Regions from separate parts of the Homo sapiens genome. Here all the other regions are linked to region 4. Evidence: promoter capture Hi-C in human tissues and cell types (Jung and others, 2019). All regions are on one chromosome and are shown on one strand. Each heading gives the region's core, a stretch centred on a gene start or on the middle of the fragment in contact. The rest is flanking DNA. Distances are from core to core; before and after follow the strand shown. Region 1 overlaps RBM5 (RNA binding motif protein 5). Region 2 overlaps IP6K1 (inositol hexakisphosphate kinase 1). Region 3 overlaps APEH (acylaminoacyl-peptide hydrolase). Region 4 holds the start of MST1R (macrophage stimulating 1 receptor). Region 5 overlaps RBM6 (RNA binding motif protein 6). Region 6 overlaps IP6K1 (inositol hexakisphosphate kinase 1).

What was found. Contacts are between HindIII fragments. The study calls those that stand out against the background at their distance.
Region 1: a fragment that was not itself captured here is called in contact with the fragment with the promoter of MST1R in region 4 in 2 of the 25 tissues and cell types used here (dorsolateral prefrontal cortex and lymphoblastoid cells).
Region 2: a contact is called between a fragment that was not itself captured here and the fragment with the promoter of MST1R in region 4, in 1 of the 25 tissues and cell types used here (dorsolateral prefrontal cortex).
Region 3: a fragment that was not itself captured here is called in contact with the fragment with the promoter of MST1R in region 4 in 1 of the 25 tissues and cell types used here (mesendoderm cells).
Region 5: a contact is called between a fragment that was not itself captured here and the fragment with the promoter of MST1R in region 4, in 5 of the 25 tissues and cell types used here (IMR-90 fibroblasts, lymphoblastoid cells, mesendoderm cells and 2 more).
Region 6: a fragment that was not itself captured here is called in contact with the fragment with the promoter of MST1R in region 4 in 9 of the 25 tissues and cell types used here (IMR-90 fibroblasts, dorsolateral prefrontal cortex, liver and 6 more).

The regions. Positions count from the first base shown.
Region 1 is chr3:50,101,038-50,105,087 of GRCh38, reverse strand. It overlaps RBM5 (RNA binding motif protein 5), which reads right to left. Exons shown (of 25, transcript NM_005778.4): 7 at 1,922-2,005; 8 at 780-840; 9 at 1-11. Among named protein-coding and RNA genes, the nearest start is that of RBM5-AS1, 2.1 kb to the right of the region's middle. The HindIII fragment of the contact is 9,297 bases long and covers 1-4,050 here.
Region 2 is chr3:49,734,523-49,738,759 of GRCh38, reverse strand. It overlaps IP6K1 (inositol hexakisphosphate kinase 1), which reads left to right. Exons shown (of 6, transcript NM_153273.4): 3 at 338-548. Among named protein-coding and RNA genes, the nearest start is that of GMPPB, 13 kb to the right of the region's middle. The HindIII fragment of the contact is 5,046 bases long and covers 1-4,237 here.
Region 3 is chr3:49,681,421-49,685,704 of GRCh38, reverse strand. It overlaps APEH (acylaminoacyl-peptide hydrolase), which reads right to left. Exons shown (of 22, transcript NM_001640.4): 16 at 3,900-3,983; 17 at 3,738-3,818; 18 at 3,269-3,357; 19 at 2,969-3,159; 20 at 2,760-2,862; 21 at 2,559-2,665; 22 at 1,734-2,468. The coding sequence ends at 2,363. MST1 (macrophage stimulating 1) reads left to right here. Exons shown (of 18, transcript NM_020998.4): 11 at 1-109; 12 at 199-234; 13 at 323-443; 14 at 616-693; 15 at 821-967; 16 at 1,049-1,155; 17 at 1,252-1,391; 18 at 1,516-1,758. The coding sequence ends at 1,677. Among named protein-coding and RNA genes, the nearest start is that of MST1, 5.9 kb to the left of the region's middle. The HindIII fragment of the contact is 6,358 bases long and covers 1-4,284 here.
Region 4 is chr3:49,901,328-49,905,558 of GRCh38, reverse strand. It overlaps MST1R (macrophage stimulating 1 receptor), which reads left to right and starts at 1,686. Exons shown (of 20, transcript NM_002447.4): 1 at 1,686-3,179. The coding sequence starts at 1,950. RefSeq lists enhancers at 641-1,313, 1,302-1,351, 1,988-2,661, 2,662-3,335 and a silencer at 1,542-1,761. The HindIII fragment of the contact is 20,801 bases long and covers 1-4,231 here.
Region 5 is chr3:50,037,033-50,041,189 of GRCh38, reverse strand. The region is part of intron 6 of RBM6 (RNA binding motif protein 6); the gene reads right to left. Among named protein-coding and RNA genes, the nearest start is that of RBM5, 50 kb to the left of the region's middle. The HindIII fragment of the contact is 5,977 bases long and covers 1-4,157 here.
Region 6 is chr3:49,766,026-49,770,634 of GRCh38, reverse strand. The region is part of intron 1 of IP6K1 (inositol hexakisphosphate kinase 1); the gene reads left to right. Among named protein-coding and RNA genes, the nearest start is that of IP6K1, 18 kb to the left of the region's middle. The HindIII fragment of the contact is 9,567 bases long and covers 1-4,609 here.

The DNA.
Region 1 (4,050 bases), core at 1,145-3,644, 200 kb before region 4:
CTGTTCAGAGTCTAGAAGGGAAAGTGATCCAATTAGAGACAAACAACTAATGTATTTTCACCAAAGAAATACATTAAAATCCCCACAAGTTTTTATTTTAACCACACAAAACAATCGTTTTTTTCTTTTTTAAGCATTTGTGCCTATAGTAAAACCTCATTAATTGTGACTTGGTTAACGCAGAATGCAAACTTTGGGCCACAGTGGGACTGACACTACCCTGCACTAAAGAAAGGCAGATGCAGAATGCAAACCAGGTGAGCAGACTTAATTCTAGAAAACAAAAGAACTTTCTGTGCTCTCACAATCATGAGCAGCATTATCTAACCTAAGGGAAAAGATTTAAAGAAAACAGACAAGTTGTTTAAGTACACTAAAATCTATACTTTTCCTCAGGCTCACAGTTAACAACCCTATTTGTCAGATTTTTGTTTTGTTTTTTTTGAGAGGCAGGGTCTTGTTTGTTGCCCAGGCTGGAGTGCAGTGGTATGACCATAGCTCACTGCAGCCTTCAACTCCTGGACTCAAGCAATCCTCTCACCTAAACCTCCTGAGTAGCTAGGACTACAGGTGTGTGCCACCACACCCAGATAATTTAAAATTTCTTTTTTTGTACAGGCAGGGTCTTGCTATCTCTTGCCAGGCTGGTATTGAACTCCTGTCCTCAAGTGATCTTCCCACCTTGGCCTTGCAAAGTGGTGGGATTACAGTGAGCCACTGCTCCCTGCCCCAGTTAGTAGGTTTTAATGCATATTGCAAACAGCTGAATCCAGTCTTACCAAACTTGTCTGCTCCACATCGGAAGCATTTTAGTCTTTTCCTGAAATTGTTAAGGCAGCACTGAAAAAAAAAGTTTTATCTGTAATTATTTCTCACATTAGGCCAGGCTTTCTAGTAACAATAACAGTGGGGCCACGGGTAGGTCCCAGTAACTAACAGAAAAGCAGAAAGTCTCACGTAGCTGAGACATGGGGACATAACCTAAAAAATTCAGAATGTAACACTGTTAAAATCTCCCAAGAAAAACAAAGTTTGTTGTATGTTGAAGAAGAATCCCATTATTATCAAGCCGAGGAAAGGGTTCAGTTAATTTGAAAACTCTACAGCAAGCCACTGGTGAAGCTCTTCCTTGTATCAACAGAGCACTATACATCCCATCCTACATACACAAACACAAGGTAAACTAACCACTGTCTAGTCCCCTACTGGACAGGGGACACAGTTTGAGCACTCTCAAAATATCAATGTCAACATTCAAGTTCAAAATGGTAAACCTTATATAACTTTAGCAGGGTTCTCAACTATTTTGGTTAATACAGTTAAGAGACTACGCCAAAAACTGAGAGCTCTAGAATTCAATAAACAGTAACATGAAACACACCTAAAATCTTAATCACTGGGCTTAGAACCTGCATCCTTTTTGTTGTCCTTTTTTGTTTTTTGAGACAGAGTCTCACTCTGTCACCCAGGCTAGAGTGCAGTGGCGCGATCTTGGCTCATTGCAACCTCTGCCTCCCGTGTTCAAGAGATTTTCCTGCCTCAACCTCCGAGTAGCTGGGATTACAGGCGCGCACCGTGATGCCCAGCTAATTTTTGTATTTTTAGTAGAGACGGGGTTTTGCCATGTTGGCCAGGCTGGTCTCTAACCCCTGGCCTCAAGCTATCTACCCGCCTTGGCCTCCCAAAGTGCTGGGATTACAGGCGTGAGCCACCATGCCCAGCAGAACGTGCATCTTAATAAACGAAACCTCTAGTTCTATCATCTAATACCAGTGTAGGAGGACCCAAGGAAAGTAACAAACCATGAATATTACTGATGATTGAGTAACAATTTCCTTGTTTGGACAGTCAAATAAACAAACAGAAAAAAACAGCAATATCCTAAAGGAGTTTTGTCTATTTGGGAAGAACATATGCTTACCTTGTTACAAAGCCAATCTTCAAACTTAGGTCTGGGATTGCTATAATGCATTGCAATGTGCTTTCCTTGAATCACCAACTTTTTCTGTAAGAAAAGAAGTAATTAGTTATTCCCATTGTGAGGAACATGTGTCCATTTTCCCAGGGCAGAGCACACTTCGGAAAAATCAGTGCTCTGGAATTAAATGGACAACATACGGGGAGGACCAACCACCGCCACCTATACTCTGCCCATCCAATCCTTCAGATAGGCAGTAAGAGAATGGGATGCGGAGTAAAGGTAAACGGAGTCAGGGAGTGCTGAGAAAGCTGTCAAACACTAAACGCTGACTTGCACCAGGCCGTGTCTCCAGCGGAGACAGAAGTCCTAACATTCAGCATTGACAGGCTGCCTGAGTGTGACAGTCTACTTCAAAAAGCAGAAGACACAATTCTCTCAGTTCTGAGACTGTCTCTTACTTTTGCCCTTAGCATGGTGTCCTTGGGCTTCGCTTCACCTTTTTCCCCAGTCCCCCATCCTTATGCAAAGTAAAAGCCTTTACATTTCTCCTTCCCCCCACACCTTCTGCTTCAGGATGAGTCCTTTGGGGGGAAAGGGAGGGGAACTCATTTTTAAAGGGAATCTGGTTACAATTCTTTCTCAAGAGGGACTATTCTGAATGCCACCAACTCTAAAACAACTAAATGAGATTTTTTTTTTCCTGTCAACTGCAACCATGTCATGTCCTAGGTGACAGATGTGTTTTTCACTAAAATGGATGGTACTCTCTTCAAGGTGAGTAACCAGGAGGCCAATGAAGTTTCTTCAGGGGGGTAGGAAAAGCTCATAAATGCACACACCACCTCATCCTTCAAGTCAACCATGTGACTACAAGGACTTAGCTTTAAAAAGTCAAAATTCTGAGCTGAATCAATCTAGCCAAGAGTATACCTAGCACCTACCCCTAAAGAGCCTTCATTTAACAGGAGCATCTTTTCTTTTTCTTGGGGGTGGGAGGATCAAGGGTGGGGGTGGTTTGACACTATCAAACAGATTTAAGTAGGTGGTTAGATATCCAGATTTTAAAAAGGAGTCTAACCCCTCTAAACATACATACTGTTGAGCAATTTGGTTCTTGCAAATCCTGGAAGATTTAAGACATGCTGTGAATTTTGTCTCTGCGATATCTAAAGGCAAGACTGCATGTCTGGCCAGGAGAGAAAAAGCTGAAGGGCCATCCACTCACTGTGATATACAGAAGCAAAAATAAAAAAGCTGGGAGATATGTGAATAGATCATCCCACTAGGAGGGATGTGTGCTGGGAGACTCCAAACTACCAGTGAGTCCCTAATCCTACTGGCCTTTTATTTCTGGAGTGAATTTGAACTGTAATGTGTTACACAGTAACATAGCTTTGTATACATTAAAATTGTGGAGACTTTTAAATGTCTTACAGGTTTTAGTTTCTTAGGAGTTTTAAACTCCTAGGTTAGTCATTCTGACATATCCACTGCATCAAACAATGCTATCATGTCAAGAAAGCAGACTCACATGAACCTTGTATATGTTCTGGATTTACTAGGATGGTATCTATGGTATGAAATGAATGAAGCTCTACTTTTAATAAAATCAGGCTGTGATTTCTGGGTTAGGAAAATGAGAGGCTTAAAAACTTTAACAAATCAGTCAGTCAAAGTGATACCCTCATTAGTGAGTCTTGTTATAAATGGCAATATTACCAATCAAAGAATGTAACTTTTATTCATGGATTCATGGATGACTCAAATCACAGAATGCTGCAGAAAAGCAAGATAATGAGTCAAGCAAACTTCCCAGAATGCACTTGGTTAAAGGCATTCAATAATGTGCCTTGGAGTTCTTGCAAAAAATGTTATTTAAGTGCCAAGCACTGAACATTATCTTGACAAACTGAAGAACACTTCAGTTAACACTACCTCGAAGAACCATCAATGACTTGCTTTGAACAGACTATAAAAGGCATTCTCAAGGAGATTAGAATGTTAATGCCACTCTAACTAGATTAGACAGCTGCAGGACACCACTCCCAGGCTAATCTCATCAGACTTATTGTTCATAAATTCCACTAAGTCCTTAAATATTCCCTGAAGACCGGTCTGAGCAGTTACGC
Region 2 (4,237 bases), core at 796-3,295, 170 kb after region 4:
GAGGGTTAAGTGATGCCAGGTGTGGGTGTCACCTAGCGAACACAGTTCTTTTGAATGGTACAAAAAATCAGTAATTGAAAGTGAGAGGGCCAGATAAGAGAAGGGGAAATATAGACTTATCCAGGAACAAAGGTAAGCATCAGATTTAGCTTGGGGATGGACGGTCATCCATTTTCTGGAAGTTACTGTCTGCTGGCTGTTGTTCTGATATTGATCTGTAGTTGGTTCAGGGCAGGTGATGTCTTCATGCTGTGTGGGAAAGTGAGTGCCAACAGTCTGTGCTGCATAGACTCGGCCTGTGTTGACATTTGTTTACCAACTGCCCTTTTTTTAACAGGCGTGGTATCTGTCTGTTTTGAGGGGGACAGTGATGGTTACATCAACTTAGTGGCCTATCCTTATGTGGAAAGTGAGACTGTGGAACAGGATGACACAACAGAACGGGAGCAACCTCGGCGCAAACACTCCCGCCGGAGCCTGCACCGGTCAGGCAGTGGCAGTGACCACAAGGAGGAGAAAGCCAGCCTGTCCCTTGAGACCTCTGAGAGGTAAGAGGTACATGTTTCGTCCTGCTGGTACAAGCACTCAAGACGTCTCCATAGTCCTGACACATCATGGGGAAGCAGGGCTCACAGTCAAGGTTGGATAAGATGACTGGTGTTCTTGGGATACCCACACAGGTGTAGCCTCTTCTCTGTGTCACATCACCCCAGTGGTGCCTCTTTCTGGGTATAGCTGTAGCTGGTTGAGAGAGGAAGTGAAGCTCTCTCAGCCGTTTGGAAGCAGGGACACCCTGTGCTGGTGACAAAAGGTTCTCTGGCTTTTCATTATGTCTTGCCACCCACAGGACAGAAGGTTGAAATACATTAGTTCGTAGCGAGGCTCCAAATGCTTTCTGACCTGCAGGATGTCCAAGCCCAAGGGCTATGAGTCCAACCAGGAGTTCCCTAATGGTTTTTGTGTCAGACCTCTGAGAATCATATCAGTCATTAACGCTTTCCCTGCAACTAAAATTTAGTTTCCGTTGTGTTGGAAATTGATTTTTCTTGTAAGTTCAAATTATGTTTTTTTGTTTGTTTTGAGATGGAGTCTTGCTGTTAGGCTGGAATGCAGTGGTGCCATCTTGCGTCACTGCAACCTCTCCCTCCTGGGTTCAAGCAATTCTCCTGCCTCTGCCTCCCAAGTAGCTGGGATTACAGGCGTGCACCACCACACCCAGCTAATTTTTGTATTTTTAGTGGAGATGTTGTGTCACCATGTTGGCTAGGCTGGTCTCGAACTCCTGACCTCAGGCGATTCGCCTGCCTTGGCTTCCCAAAGTGCTGGGATTATAGGCATGAGCCACTGTACCAGCCTCAAATTATGTGTCTTGATAATTTCATGCAAGAATTAATATGAACTCCCACTAGGATGGGTATAATCAAAAGGACAGACAATAAAAGTGTTGACAAGATGTGAAGAAATGGAACCCTCCTACACTGCTGGTAGGAAGGTAAAGTGGTGCAGCCACTTGGGAAACAATTTAGCAGTTCTTCAAAAAGTTAAACCAGGCTGAGTGCTGTGGCTCACGCTTGTAATCCTAATGCTTCAGGAGGCTGAGGTGGGAGGATCCTTTGAGGCCAGGAGTTTCAGACCAGCTTGGGCAACATAGTGAGACCCCATCTCTAAAAAAAAAAAAAAAAAAAAAAGGCCAGGCTTGGTGGCTCATGCCTGTAATCCCAGCACTTTGGGAGGCCAAGGCAGGCAGATCACGAGGTCAGGAGATCGAGACCATCCTGGCTAACACGGTGAAACCCTGTCTCTACTAAAAATACAAAAAAATTAGCCGGGCATGGTGGTGGGCACCTGTAGTCCCAGCTACTCGGGAGGCTAAGGCAGGAGAATGGCGTGAACCCAGGAGGCGGAGCTTGTAGTGAGCCGAGATCATGCCACTGCACTTCAGCCTGGGCAACAGAGCAAGACTCCATCTCAAAAAAAAAAAAAAAAAAATTAAATCCAAAAGTTAAACCAGTAATTCCACTCCTAGGTATATACCCAAAAGAATTGAATACATATATTCCCACAAAATTTGTACAAAAATGTTCTTAAAATTATTTCTATTAGGGTTGTTTCCAGTTTCTGGCTAACCCAAGTGTCCATCAACTGGTGAATGGATAAACAAAATATGGTATATCCATGTAATGGAATGTTAGCCCTAAAAAGGAATGGAGTGCTGGTACATGCTACAACATGGATGAATCATGAAAACATTATGTTAAATGAAAGAAACCAGACACAAAAGACCACATATGTACAATGCCATTTATGTAAAGTGTTCACATCAGGCAAATCTATAGAGAGAAAAGGTAGGTTAGTGGTTGCTTTCTGTTAGTAGTTAGGAGCTGGAAGTAGTGGGAAATAGGGAGTGACTGCTAATGATGATGGTTTTGATTTTGGGGTCATGAAATGTTCTGAAAATTAGGTAGTGGTGATGTTTTACAATCTTGTGAATTCACTAAAAAACCACAGAATTGTAAAAAATAAAAAAATAATAATAGAATTATGAGCCAGGCATGGTGTCTCACGCCTGTAATCCCAGCACTTTGGGAGGCCGAGGCGGGTGGATCACCTGAGGTCAGGAGTTCGAGACCAGCCTGACCAACATGGTGAAACTCCATCTCTAGTAAATACAAAAAATTAGCCAGGTGTGGTGGTGCGGGCCTGTAATCCCAGCTACTTGGGAGGCTGAGGCAGGAGAATCACTTGAACCCAGGAGGTGGAGGTTGCAGTGAGCTGAGATTACACCATTGCACTCCAGCCTGGGCAACAAGAGTGAAAACTCTGTCTCAAGAAAAAAAGGTTTCAGTAAGATGCTTTTGTGACTTGACTTAGAAGCTGAAATTGGGAATTTCCTTAGATGAGACAGTACATAGTTCATCTGTGATATCAGATCAGTTCACCAATACATGCTACATACCTGTGCCCCTGAAGCTTTGTAAAGGCCTAGGACATTCCAGTTCTCCTCACTCAGTTTGGTGAACAAGGACATGCCCATGTCAAGTACAGTACCCCATGAGACACTGGCTGAGTGGGGTTATGTGTCATTTCCCATGTCCTCAGTCAGCAGATCCTCTTTGGCCAGTCTGCATCTTTCATGCAAGGAGAGAGCTTCATACCCACTTCTTGGTAAGCAGGGTCTTCAAATGTCAAACGTTCTTTGGACAGATGGCTTCCAGTCCACAGAAGCACTTCTTCTAGTGCTTCCCCTTCACTCCCCAAGAGGCTGCTTCTTGACTAATGACTGTGGGACCTAACTTGGTCGTTCAGGTGACAAAGAATGTTCCCCAAGTCTGTAGCTGACAATTGATGGTTCTCTCTGAACAGCGCTTTAGGGTGGGCTTTTCCCCCCACTCTTTTTAGAGACAAGGTCTTGCTCTGTCACCCAGGCTAGAGTGCAGTGGCACCATCAGTGACTCACTGCAGCCTTGAATACTGGGCTCAAGCCTTCCTATCCCCTCTCACCTCAGCCTCCCAAGTAGCTGGGACTACAGGTGCACACCACTGCATTCAGCTAATTTTTAAATTTTTTGTAGAGATAGGGTCTCACTTTGTTGCCCGGGGTGGTCTGAAACTCCTGGCTTCAAGCAGTCCTCCCACCTTGGCCTCCCAAAGCGTAAGGATTATAGGCATGAGCCACTGCGCCCAGTCTAGAGTGGGCTTTTTTTATTGTCCTCCAAAGGTACAGAGGTTGCTTCATGAGTCATCTGGTGAAAAGGTATAGAATAACATCACCTAGAATAACATCACTGTCCGCCTGTGTCCAGGTTCAAGGTCCTGCCCTGAAGGTGACAGCTCTACCTGTACTGACCAAACCTCTGTCTGACCTGTTAGCAGAGAGACCGTCATTCCAGGGGTGGGGCTTGTTTCTTCACAGAGCCAGGGCTGCAACACAAAAGGTGTGATACCAAGTACCGTGGGGGCTTCATCCAGACGCAGAGAACTTCTTTGGGTTTACATGGCAAATAAGTCAACCTTTCTGTTTCCTAAAGGGTTTCACAAAAAAAGGCATCTTTGAATGGCCTCAGCAGTGCTCTCACAGAAGAAAGTAAGGGTTTTATCATTCCGAGAGGCACTGGTGGGCTCCTCTACTTTCAGTTAGGTGGAAATGGGGTCTCTGCCACTACCTCTTCACCAGTGTTGCACAGCTGACCCTTGGAGAGGGTTAGCATTTCCAGCACACACCAGCCCTGGTGTTAGC
Region 3 (4,284 bases), core at 516-3,015, 220 kb after region 4:
CAACTGGAGGAGAACTTCTGCCGGAACCCAGATGGGGATAGCCATGGGCCCTGGTGCTACACGATGGACCCAAGGACCCCATTCGACTACTGTGCCCTGCGACGCTGCGGTGAGCACTAGTGACGCTTCCCCCATGACCCTGCCTCAGCCCCCACCCAAAGGCTGGCTCCCTTAACCCCAGTGAACTTTGTCTTTCAGCTGATGACCAGCCGCCATCAATCCTGGACCCCCCAGGTTAGGAGTTGGGCCAGTTATGGGTCAGGCCCTTTAGCCCACGACATCCACACAGTCTGGGTTTCATCCAGCCCACCCCATCCTACAGACCAGGTGCAGTTTGAGAAGTGTGGCAAGAGGGTGGATCGGCTGGATCAGCGGCGTTCCAAGCTGCGCGTGGTTGGGGGCCATCCGGGCAACTCACCCTGGACAGTCAGCTTGCGGAATCGGTGAGGCACAACTGCCTGTCTCCCACAGAGAGGAGCTGAGGTTGTGTCCTCTGTGGTTATCCCACTGGGGGCTGGGAATCTATCCCTGCCCCCAGAGGTCCTAGCCAGAAGATGGCAGGTCTAGCATCTGTCCCAGGAGTCTGTTACCTGTCCTAATTCCCCACTCCTCTAGGCAGGGCCAGCATTTCTGCGGGGGGTCTCTAGTGAAGGAGCAGTGGATACTGACTGCCCGGCAGTGCTTCTCCTCCTGGTGAGCCTCCCTTGTGTTTGGGGACCCAGTCTCATCCCACCTTCCCCCTTCCCCAGGCAAGCTAACAAGTGAGCCTTGGGGCAATGGACTGAGAGTCACAAATGACCTAGCAGAGCTTCTCTCCCAGCCATATGCCTCTCACGGGCTATGAGGTATGGTTGGGCACCCTGTTCCAGAACCCACAGCATGGAGAGCCAAGCCTACAGCGGGTCCCAGTAGCCAAGATGGTGTGTGGGCCCTCAGGCTCCCAGCTTGTCCTGCTCAAGCTGGAGAGGTATGTGGACAACCTGGGAGGGTGTGAGGTGGGGCTGGGCCTTGTGGCCTCAGACCCTGAGTGCCCCCATTCTTGCTAAAGATCTGTGACCCTGAACCAGCGTGTGGCCCTGATCTGCCTGCCCCCTGAATGGTATGTGGTGCCTCCAGGGACCAAGTGTGAGATTGCAGGCTGGGGTGAGACCAAAGGTAAGAGCACAGTGCACAGGACTGCTGGTGGCCAGGAGGCCCAGCCCTGGATCTTCCTGCAGGACCCTCTCCCTCTCCCCATTCCCCTCACTGCAGGTACGGGTAATGACACAGTCCTAAATGTGGCCTTGCTGAATGTCATCTCCAACCAGGAGTGTAACATCAAGCACCGAGGACGTGTGCGGGAGAGTGAGATGTGCACTGAGGGACTGTTGGCCCCTGTGGGGGCCTGTGAGGTTGGTGGCAGGGCCCTGGGCCAGCCCTGGAAGGGTATGGGGGGCTAGAAATGAACTATTTTATCATGAAGCAGGCTAGTCATTGCTGTGGCCCGGGGCCCTCATCAGTTCTCCTACCTGCCAGGGTGACTACGGGGGCCCACTTGCCTGCTTTACCCACAACTGCTGGGTCCTGGAAGGAATTATAATCCCCAACCGAGTATGCGCAAGGTCCCGCTGGCCAGCTGTCTTCACGCGTGTCTCTGTGTTTGTGGACTGGATTCACAAGGTCATGAGACTGGGTTAGGCCCAGCCTTGATGCCATATGCCTTGGGGAGGACAAAACTTCTTGTCAGACATAAAGCCATGTTTCCTCTTTATGCCTGTACAGATGCTTCTTAGCCTTTGCTTCCAGGAAATGTGTCAGTGACTCCTTGCTAGGGCTCGGGTGGCTTGAGCCCAGCACACCCTGGGCTAGGTGATCTGTCCAGCCTAGGGGCTTCCCCAACCAAGGCAATGTCCCTGGGACTACTTTTGCCCATGGGTGCCGTGGAAAGACAGGGCCTCACACTAGTCCTCCAGACATACTCTTGGGAAGGGTGGTACAGAGTAGTTGCTAATGGAAGGGGCTGCAGCAGGGAAGCTAGGCTGGTACAGAGTCCTGGTTGCCAGGACAGGCAGAGGCTAAGCCTCTCACTGTTCCCTCCCTTCTCACACTGGAGGCAGATGAAGCCCTTGTGGCTGCCACACCCAGAACCTAGGGTCTCTGCACCCCAGAGTGGGAGGTGGGGTTGGGGATGGTTTGGTACAAAGTACCAGCAGGAACCAGGCTCTGTGTCCTAATTTATTATGACTACATAGCCCACATTCCTCTGCCCACGCATCCGTGGAGTCCAGAGCCCAGAAAGCCTCCTGCTGCCCTGCCAGACCGTTGAGCTCCTCAAGAGCGAAGTGTGGCACAGGCTGATCAGCTCATGCAGAATGGCAGGGCTTCAGCTGCCCAAGTGTGTGCGTAGCCAGAGCACAGCATTCATGAAGCTGTCTGACTCCACCTCCACCTCTGATAATGCGTGGGTGCTTTTGGGATAGAGCAGGAGCCTGTAGGGATTAGTCAGCAACATTTAAGGTTGGAGGGTCCTCCTGTGCTCACCTGCCCACCAGCTGCCAGGGCCTTCATGCTGCACTCACCGAACAGGCACATTCCGGGTCTTGAGGGCACGGTAATACTCCATGCCCTGCTTGAAGGGCACACGCCGGTCCTCCTGGCCCAACATCAGTAACAGTGGTGTCTTCACCTGGGTGTTTGGGGAAGAGTGGGGAGCTGTGTTGAGCTGGGCCCTGGATTCTGGATGGATGGGCAGCACACAGGGCAAGGAGGGGGCTGCATACCTGAGGGATGTATCTGATGGGCGATTTGTCCAGCATCTCAGCCCACACGCTGAGGTCTGGCAGGCAGTCACTGCTGAAAGGAAAGCCAGCCTCCACCACGCACCTGCAAGACACCGAGCTGTTGCAGCCCCAGGAATTCTGGGGCTACGGGGCTCCATGAGAATTTGAGGTAGAGGAGGGAAGGGCAGGGACCTGTGGTGTATGCCTACCAGTCAGGGATGTCAGTGGAGCCCAACATGGAGGCGATGTTGATCACGGGGTTCCGGGCCACGCAGGCCCTGTAGGTCTCTGGGTACTGACCAATCAAGTGGCAGGAAATGAAGCCACCATGGGAACCACCCATAAGGGCCACATGGCTTGCATCAAAGTGTTCCTCCTGGAGCACCTGTTCCACTGCAAACTGCAGGGTGGGACAAAGCATGCTGCAGCCAGCTGCCCGCTCAGCTGAATGGAGGCATCCCCCTGGCAGCCCATGTTTCAGCCTGTCCAGAAGCCCCAGCCCCTGCTACCTGGACATCCTTCACATCCTGGTGGCCCACATTGCCTGGGAGGGAGAGGATGCTGTCCTGGCCAAAGCCCGTGGAGCCACGATAGTTCACTGAGGGCAGGGAGGGACCAGACAGTGTAGTCAGGCAACATTCCCAGCCCCCTCGACGCTCTTTTCACACATCTGTGAAGTAGGCCCTGGGGCCAGCTATACCACAGACTGTCAAGGGGTCAAGGGGAAGGGACTCAGAGATTTGAGGCTGCCACCCAGTGACCACAGCGCCCTTTCCTTGGAAGTCCCGAGTTAGTCCTTGTTATCACTATGCCACAGAACCAGAGGCTGGGCCCCAGCAGTTCCTGGTAGTGGTTACTAGGTCTAGGCTAGAGAAAGTCCTGGAGACTAGAGTGGCACCCATGGTACTTATACAAACCAGGTCCACCCCCGTCACTCCACTGTAGTCCTAACAGAACTGTGGGTCCCTGCTCACTCACCTAGTAGTACCGCAAAGCCCATCTTGCAAAGCATGGCTGGGAACAGCATCCAGGCAGTGACAAAGGATGAATGGGGCCCCCCTGCAGACAGGGAGCGGAGGGTGAAAGGGCCAGCTAGGAAGAGGGCTGGGAGGGCAAGGGCTCTTAACGCCAGATGCCTACCGTGGGGCATGACCACCATGGGCACTTGGGTCTTATCTGGAGGGCTGCCAGGCTGCAGCAGGATTGCTTCAAAGTCAAGGCCAGCTGCAGGGAGAGGGCAGCAGTCAGCAGGGTGAGCCTAGGGGCTTCCCCAACTAAGGCCCCATCTCTAGCTGCAGGTGTGGGGCTGACCTCTGGGTCAGAGACCTGGCCAAGGTAGTCCACACCATGACACATGGACCCCAGAAGGCTCATACTTCTTCTGCCCTCGTCAGGGAACCCCATCCTGCAGCAACAGCATTCGGGATGAGGTGTGGTCACTGAGGCTTGTATGAGGCCTATTTTCTTTGGACCTGGGTCTTCCAACCACAGATGATTTGGCCTGGTGAAGCCCAGGTGATATCCA
Region 4 (4,231 bases), core at 437-2,936:
CCACCCCCACTCCTCATAAACAGAAGAGAGAACTCTGGGAAATCACCTAGTCGGAACTACGTTTTCTTTTTCTTTTTTTGGAGATGGAGTCTCGCTCTGTCACCCAGGCTGGAGTGCAGTGGCACAATCTCAGCTCACTGCAACCTCCACCCCCTAAATTCAAGCTATTCTCCTGCCTCAGCCTCCCTAGTAGCTGGGATTACAGGCACCCACCACCACGCCCGGCTAATTTTTGTTTTTAGTGGAGATAGTTTCACCATGTTGGCCAGATCTGTCTGTTCACCATGTTGGTCTTGAACTCCTGACCTCAAGCGATCCACCCGCCTCGGCCTCCCAAAGTGCTGGGATTACAGGCGTGAGCCACCACGCCCGGTCACATATTTTATTTTAAAAACATTTTTAGCAGTTTTTTTGTTTTGTTGAGTTTTGTTATGTTGCCCAGGCTGGTCTTGAACTCCTAACCTCAAGCAATCCTCCTGCCTTGGCCCCTCAAAGGAGTGCTAGGATTACAGGCATGAGCCACGGTGCCCAGCCCAGAACTACATTCTCATTGAAGAGAATAAGATCCAGCAAGGCCTACAGAGCATGTTGGAAGTGTCCTGAGAGCCAAAGCCCATGATTCCTCCATATCAGGGGGGCACTGGGTAGAGCCAGGAAGGAAGGGGGAGTCCCCAAGGCCCATACTGTGGACCCCATTATACAGCTTCCATATACTGAGGCTGCAGAGGAGGTATGGGCCTCCACTTACGTGCCTCTCTGACTCTGAGGTCCAGTCAGCAAGGCCAGATCCCATCCTAAGACCCTTATGGCCCTGGGAGAGCAGGGCATAACACACCTTCCTCTGACACCATCTTGTCGCTGATAGCTCAGGAGAAGCACATGGAAGAATGGTCCCGGCCGGGCGCGGTGGCTTACGCCTGTAATCCCAACAGTTTGGGAGGCTGAGGCGGGCGGATCACCTGAGGTCAGGAGTTTGAGACCAGCCTGGCCAACACTGTGAATCCTGTCTCTACTAAAAATACAAAATTAGCCGGGTGTGGTGGTGCGCGCCTGTAATCCCAGCTATTCAGGAGGTTGAGACAGGAGGAGGTTGAGGCTGGAGAATCGCTTGAACCTGGGAGGCGGAGTTTGCAGTGAGCCGAGATCGCGCCACTGCAATCCAGCTTGGGCCACAGAGCAAGACTCCTTCTCAAAAAAAAAAAAGGACAGTCCTTTCCCACAAAGGGTGGCGCCCCATAACATCTCTTGTAAGTGCCCCACATCTCCCCTCTGGTCTTCCACACAATCCTGGTCTCTGTTCTCCACATGGTGGGCCCCCAGGCCACCTCTGGGCACCAGCCACTGAGGGTGTTGCTACTAAGTGCAAACTAGTTCCACCGCAAGCAAAGAGCCCAGTGTCCTGCCCCCCTTCTCGCTGCGAACCAGTCGGTAGTGGGGGGATGGGATGGGACGGCTCAGACTGGCTCACCTCTCTCCAGGCCACACCATGCACATCCACCCACAGGCCGCTGAGAAAAAGGCGCCAAGACGCCAGGTGAAGGTACAGGAGCCAGGCCTCCAAGGGCCGGAAGAGTCGGATGGGCGGAGGGCCTGGGCTAGGCCAAGCCTTCCTCGCGGCCCCGCCCCCACGGCCCGACTCCGCCCGCCCAGCCCGGCGCCCTCGGGTCGGCTGAGCGCTAAGCGCCAGTGTACAGCGGCGGCTGGGGCGGCAGGTGAGGCGGCTGGGGCGTTGCTGTCGTGCGTCCGCAGGCGTCAGGTGCTCAGACCCGAGGGCCGGGAAGGGATTTGGGTTTCACAGGAACCTGGGGCGGGGGTCCGCTATCTTGGGGCTGTCGGGACCGCTGCTTAAATTTGGCCCAGTCCAGACCTCGAGTCGGGCCCCCAGCCAGGCCCACGCCCAGGTCCAGGCCCAGGCCGGTAGGGATCCTCTAGGGTCCCAGCTCGCCTCGATGGAGCTCCTCCCGCCGCTGCCTCAGTCCTTCCTGTTGCTGCTGCTGTTGCCTGCCAAGCCCGCGGCGGGCGAGGACTGGCAGTGCCCGCGCACCCCCTACGCGGCCTCTCGCGACTTTGACGTGAAGTACGTGGTGCCCAGCTTCTCCGCCGGAGGCCTGGTACAGGCCATGGTGACCTACGAGGGCGACAGAAATGAGAGTGCTGTGTTTGTAGCCATACGCAATCGCCTGCATGTGCTTGGGCCTGACCTGAAGTCTGTCCAGAGCCTGGCCACGGGCCCTGCTGGAGACCCTGGCTGCCAGACGTGTGCAGCCTGTGGCCCAGGACCCCACGGCCCTCCCGGTGACACAGACACAAAGGTGCTGGTGCTGGATCCCGCGCTGCCTGCGCTGGTCAGTTGTGGCTCCAGCCTGCAGGGCCGCTGCTTCCTGCATGACCTAGAGCCCCAAGGGACAGCCGTGCATCTGGCAGCGCCAGCCTGCCTCTTCTCAGCCCACCATAACCGGCCCGATGACTGCCCCGACTGTGTGGCCAGCCCATTGGGCACCCGTGTAACTGTGGTTGAGCAAGGCCAGGCCTCCTATTTCTACGTGGCATCCTCACTGGACGCAGCCGTGGCTGCCAGCTTCAGCCCACGCTCAGTGTCTATCAGGCGTCTCAAGGCTGACGCCTCGGGATTCGCACCGGGCTTTGTGGCGTTGTCAGTGCTGCCCAAGCATCTTGTCTCCTACAGTATTGAATACGTGCACAGCTTCCACACGGGAGCCTTCGTATACTTCCTGACTGTACAGCCGGCCAGCGTGACAGATGATCCTAGTGCCCTGCACACACGCCTGGCACGGCTTAGCGCCACTGAGCCAGAGTTGGGTGACTATCGGGAGCTGGTCCTCGACTGCAGATTTGCTCCAAAACGCAGGCGCCGGGGGGCCCCAGAAGGCGGACAGCCCTACCCTGTGCTGCGGGTGGCCCACTCCGCTCCAGTGGGTGCCCAACTTGCCACTGAGCTGAGCATCGCCGAGGGCCAGGAAGTACTATTTGGGGTCTTTGTGACTGGCAAGGATGGTGGTCCTGGCGTGGGCCCCAACTCTGTCGTCTGTGCCTTCCCCATTGACCTGCTGGACACACTAATTGATGAGGGTGTGGAGCGCTGTTGTGAATCCCCAGTCCATCCAGGCCTCCGGCGAGGCCTCGACTTCTTCCAGTCGCCCAGTTTTTGCCCCAACCCGGTAAGCTGAAAGAAGGGGCCCTTACTTGTGAGCTGCATGCACATGGCTGAACACAGGCTGCTTCCCTTCCATCACTGAGGGGATCTGGGGGCGCGGTGGGGGGGCAGGCGGAAAGAAGCATTCTCTCTCACCCAGTTCCTAAGTGCTGGGGTGGTGTGAGAAACCAGCCAGACAAAGGCTACACTGGAGGCTTAGCTCCCAGGCTGGCCCTTGTGGCTGCCTCATCTTGCTCTTTCCCCTACCTGCCCATCATGGCCTCTGGTTTTTTAGGTAGTTTCCCTGGCTATGTGAGGATAGGGTTACATAACCGTGTCTCTGTTAGCATAGCTCCTGAATGCTGGGTAGAATGATGGGCATTCCCTCCTACTTGTCCACCACCCATATCCTCAGGGACACACGCAGAAAAATAGCACTCCCCCCTCCCCTCCCCCACCCCCGCCACCACCACCACCACCACGCACAAATACACAGGGAGATGCTCACAGATTCACAGACTCACAGCTGCTTGCCAACAGTTTCACTTTCCCTTGTTTTGCTCTGCTTTCCAAAGGGGGTGGGACGGGAGTTGTCAGAGAATCTCCCCTTCCTCCACACCCCCTCCCCCCACCCACCCCCATCCTTCTGCCAGCCACCACGTTCCAGGGAGCCTCCTGGGCCTTGGAAGTTGGGAGCTTGTTAGGGAGCCTGCATGTCCTGGGCTTCACTAACGTTTTTGCCATGATTGGGGGTGATTGGGGGAGTACCCAGAACTCATGGAATGGCAGCTTGGTTCTAGAAGGTTCTGGGAGCCTCACTCTAGTCTTGTGCAAGCAACTATAAACATCTGGGGATAAGTAAAGGCCTAGGAAGGGCTGGTTGGAATTGGTCCATCCCAGACTTTTTTTTTTAACTGTATTTGGAGCCCTACCCCAGGCAGGAAGTCTCAAAGCCTGTGCTGAACTGGGGGCTCCTTCCACAGACTCTATCTAGGTTCTCTCCAGCCATCGTGTAGGCAACAGCAGTAAGATTGGACCAAGGAATGGGACCCACAGCTACTGTTCTTAGATTCTCTA
Region 5 (4,157 bases), core at 945-3,444, 140 kb before region 4:
GACACTGCCCTGTCAGCTGCCACTTCCTATCTTTTCTTGACTAGATGAAAGCACAACAAAAACTTTTACTAAAATGTTCTTGACAGCAAACGTTTTAGACTATATGACGCCAGCAACAACCAGCATCAAGCCAAAATCTTATTTGTGTTCTCTGAAGCAAAACGGCTGACTGTTTCACTGAGCCCCAGAGCCCCACCCACTAGGATCAGAGCTGGCAGAAGTCAGGGTCTCAAGATGAACTCTGCGGCTGGGCACAGTGGCTCACGCCTGTAACCCCAGCATTTGGGGAGGTCAAGGCAGGTGGATTGCTTGAGCTCAGGAGTTCGAGACCAGCCTGGGCAATGTGATAAAACCCCGCCTCTACAAAAAATACAAAATGGTAGTGTGCGCCTGTTATCCTAACTACTCCAGGGGCTGAGGTGGGAGGGTTGCTTGAACCTGTGAGGTCGAGGCTGCAGTGAGCCAAGCTCACGCCATTGCATTCCAGCCTGGGTGACAAAGTAAGACCCAATCTCAAAAAAAAAAAAAAGAATTCTGCTCTGGGAACACAATACACTCCAAGCCAGACCCTGACATAAGAAAATGTAAATATACACATATATATGTATATATCTATAGATATACATGTGTGTGTATATATATATGCATGTGTGTGTGTATATATATACACACGTGTGTGTGTGTGTGTGTGTGTGTATATATATATATATATATATATTTTTTTTTTTTTTTTTTTTTTTTTTTGAGAAGGAGCCTTGCTCTGTCACCCAGGCTGGAGTGCAGTGGTGCGATCTCAGCTCACTGCAAGCTCTGCCTCCCGGGTTCATGCAATTTTCCTGCCTCAGCCTCCCGAGTAGCTGGGACTACAGGCACCCATCACCACGCCTGGCTAATTTTTTGTATTTTTAGTAGAGATGGGGTTTCACCGTGTTAGCCAGGATGGTCTCGGTCTCCTGACCTCGTGAGCTGCCCACCTCGGCCTCCCAAAGTGTTGGGATTACAGGCGTGAGCCAGGGCACCCGGCCGAGAACTTAAATATTTTAAAGGTGTCTGGTGCTAAGAATATATTCCACCCACTTCACTACCACTCCTTGCAGGTCTTACATGCATTTTAAAGTAAGATTCAGGTTCTAGAAAATGCCTCCTATCATGATGAAAGAAAACCAGGGATCCGTAGTCTTGGAGGTAATTCCATGAACTTGGCTCCAGGAACATAGAAAGAACAGTGCCTACCAGGGGATCCACACGTCTCTCCTATTCTAAGGTTCCATTACATTTGTATTTGCGGCAAAAACAAAGAGGCAAAATATATAAATAAGCAAGTAAGTAAGTAATCAAAAGAGCCTCAAATCTTTTCTCTCCTTGTGAGAAGACAAGACTCTATCATAAAGACTGAGACTGTGAGGCAGACAGGGCATTCAACAAATTCCTTCATCACAGAATCTCCGTAGATTGCTTCTTACAATTTATAAACTCCAACTATTAGCACTCAGAACAACTGAAAAACTGAACCACTAAAATGCAGATTTTTAAAAAACTTTTCAGCTTGTTATAATTTTGTATCTTTTAGAGCAATGGTTCACCTAACATTTATAAAAACCTTAGTCAAAATTTCTCTGGTTAATAATTTATTTCCGTATGCTGGGTGCGGTGGCCCATGCCTGTAATCCCAGCACTTTGGGAGACCAAGGGTGGGGGGGGGGGGGGTGGATCACCTGAGGTCAGGAGTTCGAGACCAGCCTGGCCAACATGGTGAAACCCTGTCTCTACTACAAGTACAAAATTAGCTGGGTGTGGTAATGGGCGCTTCTAATCCCAGCTACTCGGGAGGCTGAGGCAGGAGCATCGCTTGAACCTGGGAGGTGGAGGTTGCAGCGAGCCGAGATTGTGTGATTGCACTCCAGCCTGGGTGAAAAGAGCGAGACTCCATCTCAAAATAAATAAATAAATAATAATAATTTATTTTCACACAAAGATATGGCCTAATTCTTGGTGGAAGTAAAATATCACATTTTGACATATTTTACTGATAATTCTCAGAATTCCCTTCAGAATTCAGAATTCTATAACCTCTATCTTATTTTTTTCCTCTTTCCTGAGTTGATTCCAATCACATAGCAATGAAATAAAAATACTCACAAAGTAGAATATGTACAGAAACAAGATACAGCTTGTTCTTTTCTGACAATTGAATCAGTTAACCCTAAAATAATTATGAGGTATGTAGGGCAAGGGCTTTTAGTCCCAGATAAAAGAGAGGCTCTCTCCTACTGCAATTAGGGACATCCCCCACCTCAACACAGAGTGAAGGGCAGCTGATTTACATCATTTCTTTTCTTCTTTTTCTTCTTTTTTTGGGGACGGAGTCTTGCTCTGTTGCCTAGGCTGGAGTGCAGTGGCGCGATCTCGGCTCACTGCAAGCTCTTCCTCCTGGGTTCACGCCATTCTCCTGTCTCAGCCTCCTGAGTAGTTGGGACTACAGGTGCCGGCCACCACACCTGGCTGATTTTTTTTGTATTTTTAGTAGAGACGGGGTTTCACCCTGTTAGCCAGGATGTTCTCGATCTCCGGACCTCATGATCCGCCCGCCTCGGCCTCCCAAAGTGCTGGGATTACAGGCGTGAGCCCCTGTACCCGGCCTGATTTACATCATTTCTATAACACTTTTATATTCTGAGATGACTACTATTGGAGCTCCCTGGCTCTTTTCTTCTGGAAAAAGTAGACTCTAAATTCAACATCAAGGCATGCTTCATTGAATAGGTCTCTAAACTGAATCACTATAGAGAAAAACAAATAGGGAGTTTGGTAAATAAATGTGGAAAATATAAAGCTTCTTAATTTGCTTTGTTTACCAAAGAATATAATAAAACTATTCCTTTTTCTTAAAAACTTAATGGCAGGAGGTGGTAGAGAACAGCCAAGAGAGCAGACTGAGGCCCACAAGACCTAAGATACTGTACAGGCCTCACTGCTGAGCCCATCACAAAGCCTGCACAGTATTCCCCAGGCATCCCCAAAGAACCAGCAGCTATTCTTCAGGATCCACCATCCAAAAGAGACATTGGAACCGGCAGCGGTGGCTCACACCTGTAATCCCAGCACTTTGGGAGGCTGAGGCGGGTGGATCACCTGAGGTCAGGAGTTCAAGACCAGCCTGGCCAACATGGTGAAATCCCATCTCTACTAAAAATACAAAAATTACCCGGGCATGGTGGCGGGCGCCTGTAATCCCAGCTACTCAGGAGGCTGAGGCAAGAGAATCACCTGAACCTGGGAGGTGGAGGGTGCAGTGAACCAAGATCGTGCCACCACACTCCAGCCTGGGCAACAAGAGCAAAACTCTGTCTCAAAAAAAAAAAAAAAAAAAGGAAAGAAAAGAAATTTGCCACGCATGGTGGCTCATGTCTATAATCCCTACACTTTAGAAGGTCAAGGTGGGAGAACTGCTTGAACCCAGGAGCTCGAGACCAGACCAGCTCAGGGAACACAGTGAGACCCCATCTCCATTGCTATTAAAACAAAATTTTTTAATGGGAAAAAAAATAAAAAGAGACATTATTTCTACTGACCCTTTATCTATCACCTCCCACCCAAGTACTTGAGCTTCCTCAAAGGTATCTTTAGCCCCTCTGCCTGTAACGTCCTCAAAGAGTCTTGCTGACTTGATTTCTGCAGAAATAGTGCCTTGAAAATATTAATAAAATACAGAGCCTCTGGACTTCTGAATACATACTGTTCAACTAATATTTTAGGGAGGTGACTATGCCCCCCTGCTTTTTTTGAGACAGGGTCTTGCTCTGTCACTCAGGCTAGAGTGCACTGGTGTTGTATGATCATAGCTCATTGTAGCCTTGATCTCCTGAGCTCAAGCAATCATCCCACCTCAGCTTCCTGACAAGCTGGGACAATACGTGCATGTCACCAAGTCTGGCTAATTTATTTTATTTTATGCAGACATGGGGTCTTCCTATGATGCCCCGGCTGGTCTTGAACTCCTGGGCTCAAATGATCCTCCTGCCACAGCCTCCCAAAGGGCTGGAATTACAGGTGTTAGCCATCATGCCCAGCCAATTCTCTTCTTAGGCAGAAAGCTATTGACCCAATGCCACTTAGAAGTACCAAGACTAAGAATGGAAGCTTTTTGGGAGGCCAAG
Region 6 (4,609 bases), core at 800-3,299, 140 kb after region 4:
CTGGTTCTGTCACCCAGGCTGGAGTGCAGTGGCATGATCTCCGCTCACTACACCCTCCACTTCCTGGGCTCAAGCCATTCTCCCACTTCAGCCTCCCGCGTAGCTAAGACTACAGGTGAGCTCTGCACACCTTGGCCTCCCAAAGTGCTGGTATTATAGGTATGAGCCACCATGCCCAGCCTAACTTTATTTTTTGTGTTTTCACCTACAAGCTTTCTAGTTTTAGCTTTTACATTTTGGTCTCTGAGTCATCCTAAGTTAATTTTTGTTATTGTGTGAGATTGGGGCTGGTGTTTCTTTTTCCCCCACATAGATAACTGATTGTTCCATTACTAGCAACATTTGTTGAAAAGACTTGTGTATTATCTATTGCTCTGTAACAAATTATTCCAAAACTTAGCAGTTTAAAACAGCAAACAGTTATTACCTCAGTTTCTGAGGGCTAGGAATTCAGAAGTGGCCCAGGCTAGAGTGAAGTGGTGATCACAGCTTACTGCAGCCCTGGCCTCCTGGGCTTGAGTGATCCTCCCAACTCAGCCTCTCAAGCTGGAACTACAGGCATGCACCACCATGCAGGGCTAGTTTTTTCTATGTTTTGTAGAGATGTTGCCCAGGCTGGTTTTGAACTCCTGGGCTCAAGTGATCTTTCCCTGTTGGCCTCCCAAAGTGTTGGGATTATAGGCCTGAGCCACCATGCTTGGCTTAGAGGATCTGTTTTCAAGATGACTTATTCATAAAGCTCTTTGCAGGAAGCCTCAGTTCCATATTGTTTATCTCTACCCAGGGCTTTTGTTTGTTTGTTTTTAAATTTTCCCTACTTTAAAGCTAACAAGTTATACACAGGGCTCTTTGAGTTTCCTCATGGCGTGCAGTTATCTCCTACAGAAATGATCTAAGACAAAGTAAGGAAGAAACCATGAAGCCTCTTATGACCTAGTCATACACTGTCACTTCTGCCATATTCTTTTCATTAGAATGAGTCCCTAAGTCTAGCCTGTACTCAAGGAGAGAGGAGGATTTCACTTTTTAGAGGGAAGAATGTAAAAAAATTTGACATAGTTTAAAACTACCAAAATTTTCTCTCCCCATTGGTTTGCTTTGGTACTTTTGTCGAAAAACAATTGACTGTTATATCCTGATTTGTCGCTGGCAAAAATCCCAAAAACAATTGACTCTGTAGATATGGGCCTGTTTGTGAAATCTGTGTTCTGTTCCATTGATCTATTTGTTTATCCATATGCCAGTACCCCACTACTGTAGCTTTATAGGAAGTCTTGACATGAGGCAGTGTAAATAACCCAACTTTATTGTTTATCAAGATTTATTTGAATATTACAGTTTCTTTTTATTACCATATAAATTTTAGAATTAGCTTGTCAATTTCTGTAAAAAAGTCTCCTGCCATTATGGTTGAGATTCCACTGAATTTATAGATTCATTTGGGGAGAATTGACATCTTAACTATATTGAGCCTTCTAATCCATGTGCTGTGTGAGGCATATTTCTTGATTTATGCCTTCTTTACTATCTTGCTACATTATTTCATTGTTTTTAATGTAGAATTCTTTCACGTTTTGTTAAATTTGACCCAAGACATTTGATTTTTTTGATGCTATTGTAAATGAAATTTTTAAATTGTAGTAAATATACATGAGAAAATGTAGAATTTTAACTATTTTGAAGGGTATGATGCAGTGGCATTAAATACATTCACAATGATGTTTTGAGAACTACTTTCATCATCCCAAATAGGAACTCTCCCCATTATATAGTAACACCCCATTCTCACCTCCCCCAGCCCCTTGTACGTTCTTAATAATCTTTTTGTCTCAATGAATTCGCCTATTTTATTTTATTTTATTTTTGAGACTCAGTCTCACTCTGTCACCGAGGCTGGAGTGCAGTGGCCCAGTCTTGGCTCACTGCAGCCTCCGCCTCCCAGGTTTAAGTGATTCTCCTGCCTCAGCCTCTCAAGTAGCTGGGATTACAGGTGCCCGCCACCACGGCCGGCTAATTTTTGTATTTTTGGTAAAGATGGGGTTTCACCATGTTGGCCAGGTTGATCTCGAACTCCTGACCTCAAGTGATCCACCTGCCTCAGCCTCCCAAAATGCTGGAATTACAGGCTTAAGCAACTGTGCCCAGCCCTGTTTTATTTTATGTAAGTGGAATTATAATTATATAATTTTTTCCCTTTTGTGCCTGGCTTATTTCACTTAGCAAAATGTTTTCAAGATTCATCCATGTTGTGACATGCATCAGAATTTCATTCCTTTTTAAGGCTGAATAATATTTCACTGTATGTATATACCGCATATCTTTATCCATTTATCTGTTGATGGACATGGGTCGTAGACACCATTTGGTTATTGTGAATAATGCTGTGAACATTGGTGTATAAATATCTGTTTTGGATTCCTCCTTTCAGTTCTTTTGGGTATAGACCTAAAAGTGGAATTGTTGAATCATATGGTAATTCTATGTTTAACTTTTTGAGGAATTGCCATACTGTCTTCTTTACATTCTCACCAGCAGTGCACAAGTGTTACAATTTCTTCATATCCTTGCCAACACTTATTTTCTATTTTTTTTTTTTTTTTATAACTTGGATGTGAAGTAGTTTCTCATTGTGGCTTTGATTTGCATTTCCCTAATGACTAATGAAGTTGAGCATCTTTTTGCATATTTTTTGGCCATTTGTAAATCTTCAGAGAAATGTCTAAGGCCTTTGCCCATTTATGAATTGGGTTATTTTTGTTGTTGTCGAGTTATACAAGTACTTTATATGTTCCATGTATTAATCCTTTATCAGATGTATGATCTGCAGATATTTTCTGCTATTCTGTGGGTGATGTTTTCACTCTTTTTAAATTAATTAATCGGTTTTTTAGAATAGAGATGGGATCTCACTATATTGCTCAGGGTGGTCTCAAACTCTTGGGCTTAAGTGATCCACCTGCATCAGCCTCCCAAAGTGTTGAGATTACAGGTATGAGCCACTGTACCCAGACTAATTTTATTTTTTTAAGTTGTTGTTATTATTATTATTATTTTTTGAGATGGAGTCTCACTCTGTCACCTAGCCTGGAGTGCAGTGGCGTGATCTCTGCTCACCACAGTTTCCGCCTCCCGGTTCAAGTGATTCTCCTGTTTTAGCCCCCCGAGTACCTGGGATTACAGGCACGTGCCACCACAACTGGCTACTTTTTTGTATTTTTAGTAGAGATGGGGTTTCACCATGTTAGCCAGGCTTGTCTTGAACCCCTGACCTCAGGTGATCTGCCCACCTCGGCCTCCCAAAGTGTTGGGATTACAGGCGTGAGCCACCGCGCCTGGCCAATTATTATTATTTTTTAAGAGATAGGGTCTCATCCTGTCACCCAGGCTGGAATGAGTGATATGAATGTAGCTCACTGCAGCCTCAAACTCCTGGGCTTGAGTGACTGCCTGCCTGCCTCAGCCTTCCAAGTAGCCGAGACTACTGGTATGAGCCAGTGCAACTCAGCTGATTTTTTAAAAATAAAAAAAAAAATTTTGTGGAGATGGGATCTTGTTAAGTTGCCCAGGCTGGTCTCAAACTGAGCTTAAGCAATCCTCCTGCCATGGCTTCCCAAAACTGTAGGATTTCAGGCCCTTGGATTTCTTTCTTTTTTTTTTTTTTTTTTTTTTTTTTTTTGAGACGGAGTCTTGCTCTTGTCACCCCGGCTGGAGTGCAGTGGCACGCTCGCTGCAACCTCTGCCTCCAGGGTTCAAGTGATTCTCCTGCCTTAGCCTTCCGAGTAGCTGGGATTACAGATGCCCACCACCATGCCCGCTAATTTTTGTATTTTTAGTAGAGACGGGGTTTTGCCATGTTGGTCAGGCTGGTCTCAAACTCCTGACCTAGTGATCTGCTCGCCTCAGCCTCCCAAAGTGCTGGGATTACAGGTGTGAGCCACTGTACCTGGCTGATTTCTTTCTTTTTTTTTTTTAAGATGAGGTCTCGTTCTGTCACCCAGGCTGGAGTGCAATGGCACGATCTTGGCTCACTGCAACCTCTGCGTCCCGGGTTCAAGTGATTCTCCTGCCTCAGCCTCCTGAGTAGCTGGGATTACAGGTGCCCACCACCACACCCAACTGATGTTTTAATTTTTAGTAGAGACAGAGTTTCACCAGGTTGGCCAGGCTGGTCTCGAACTCCTGACCTCAAGTGAGCCACCTGCCTTGGCCTCCCAAAGTGCTGGGATTACAGTTGTGAGCCACAGCGCCTGGCGTTTCTTTTTTTTTAGACAGAGTTTCGCTCTTGTCACCCAGGCTGGAGTGCAGTGGCGCGATCTTGGCTCACTGCAGACTTGATCTCTTGGGCTCAAGTGATTCTCCCACCTCAGCCAGACTCCCGAGATGCTGGGACTACAGGCATCTGCCACCACACCCAGCGAATTTTTGTGCTTTTTGTTTTTGTTTTTGTTTTTGTTTTTTTGAGATGGAGTCTTGCTCTGAAGCCCAAGCTGGAGTGCAGTGGTGCAATCTCGGCTCACGGCAAGCTCCGCCTCCCGGATTGACACCATTCTCCTGCCTCAGCCTTCCAAGTAGCTGGGACTACAGGCGCCCGCCACCACACCTGGCTAAT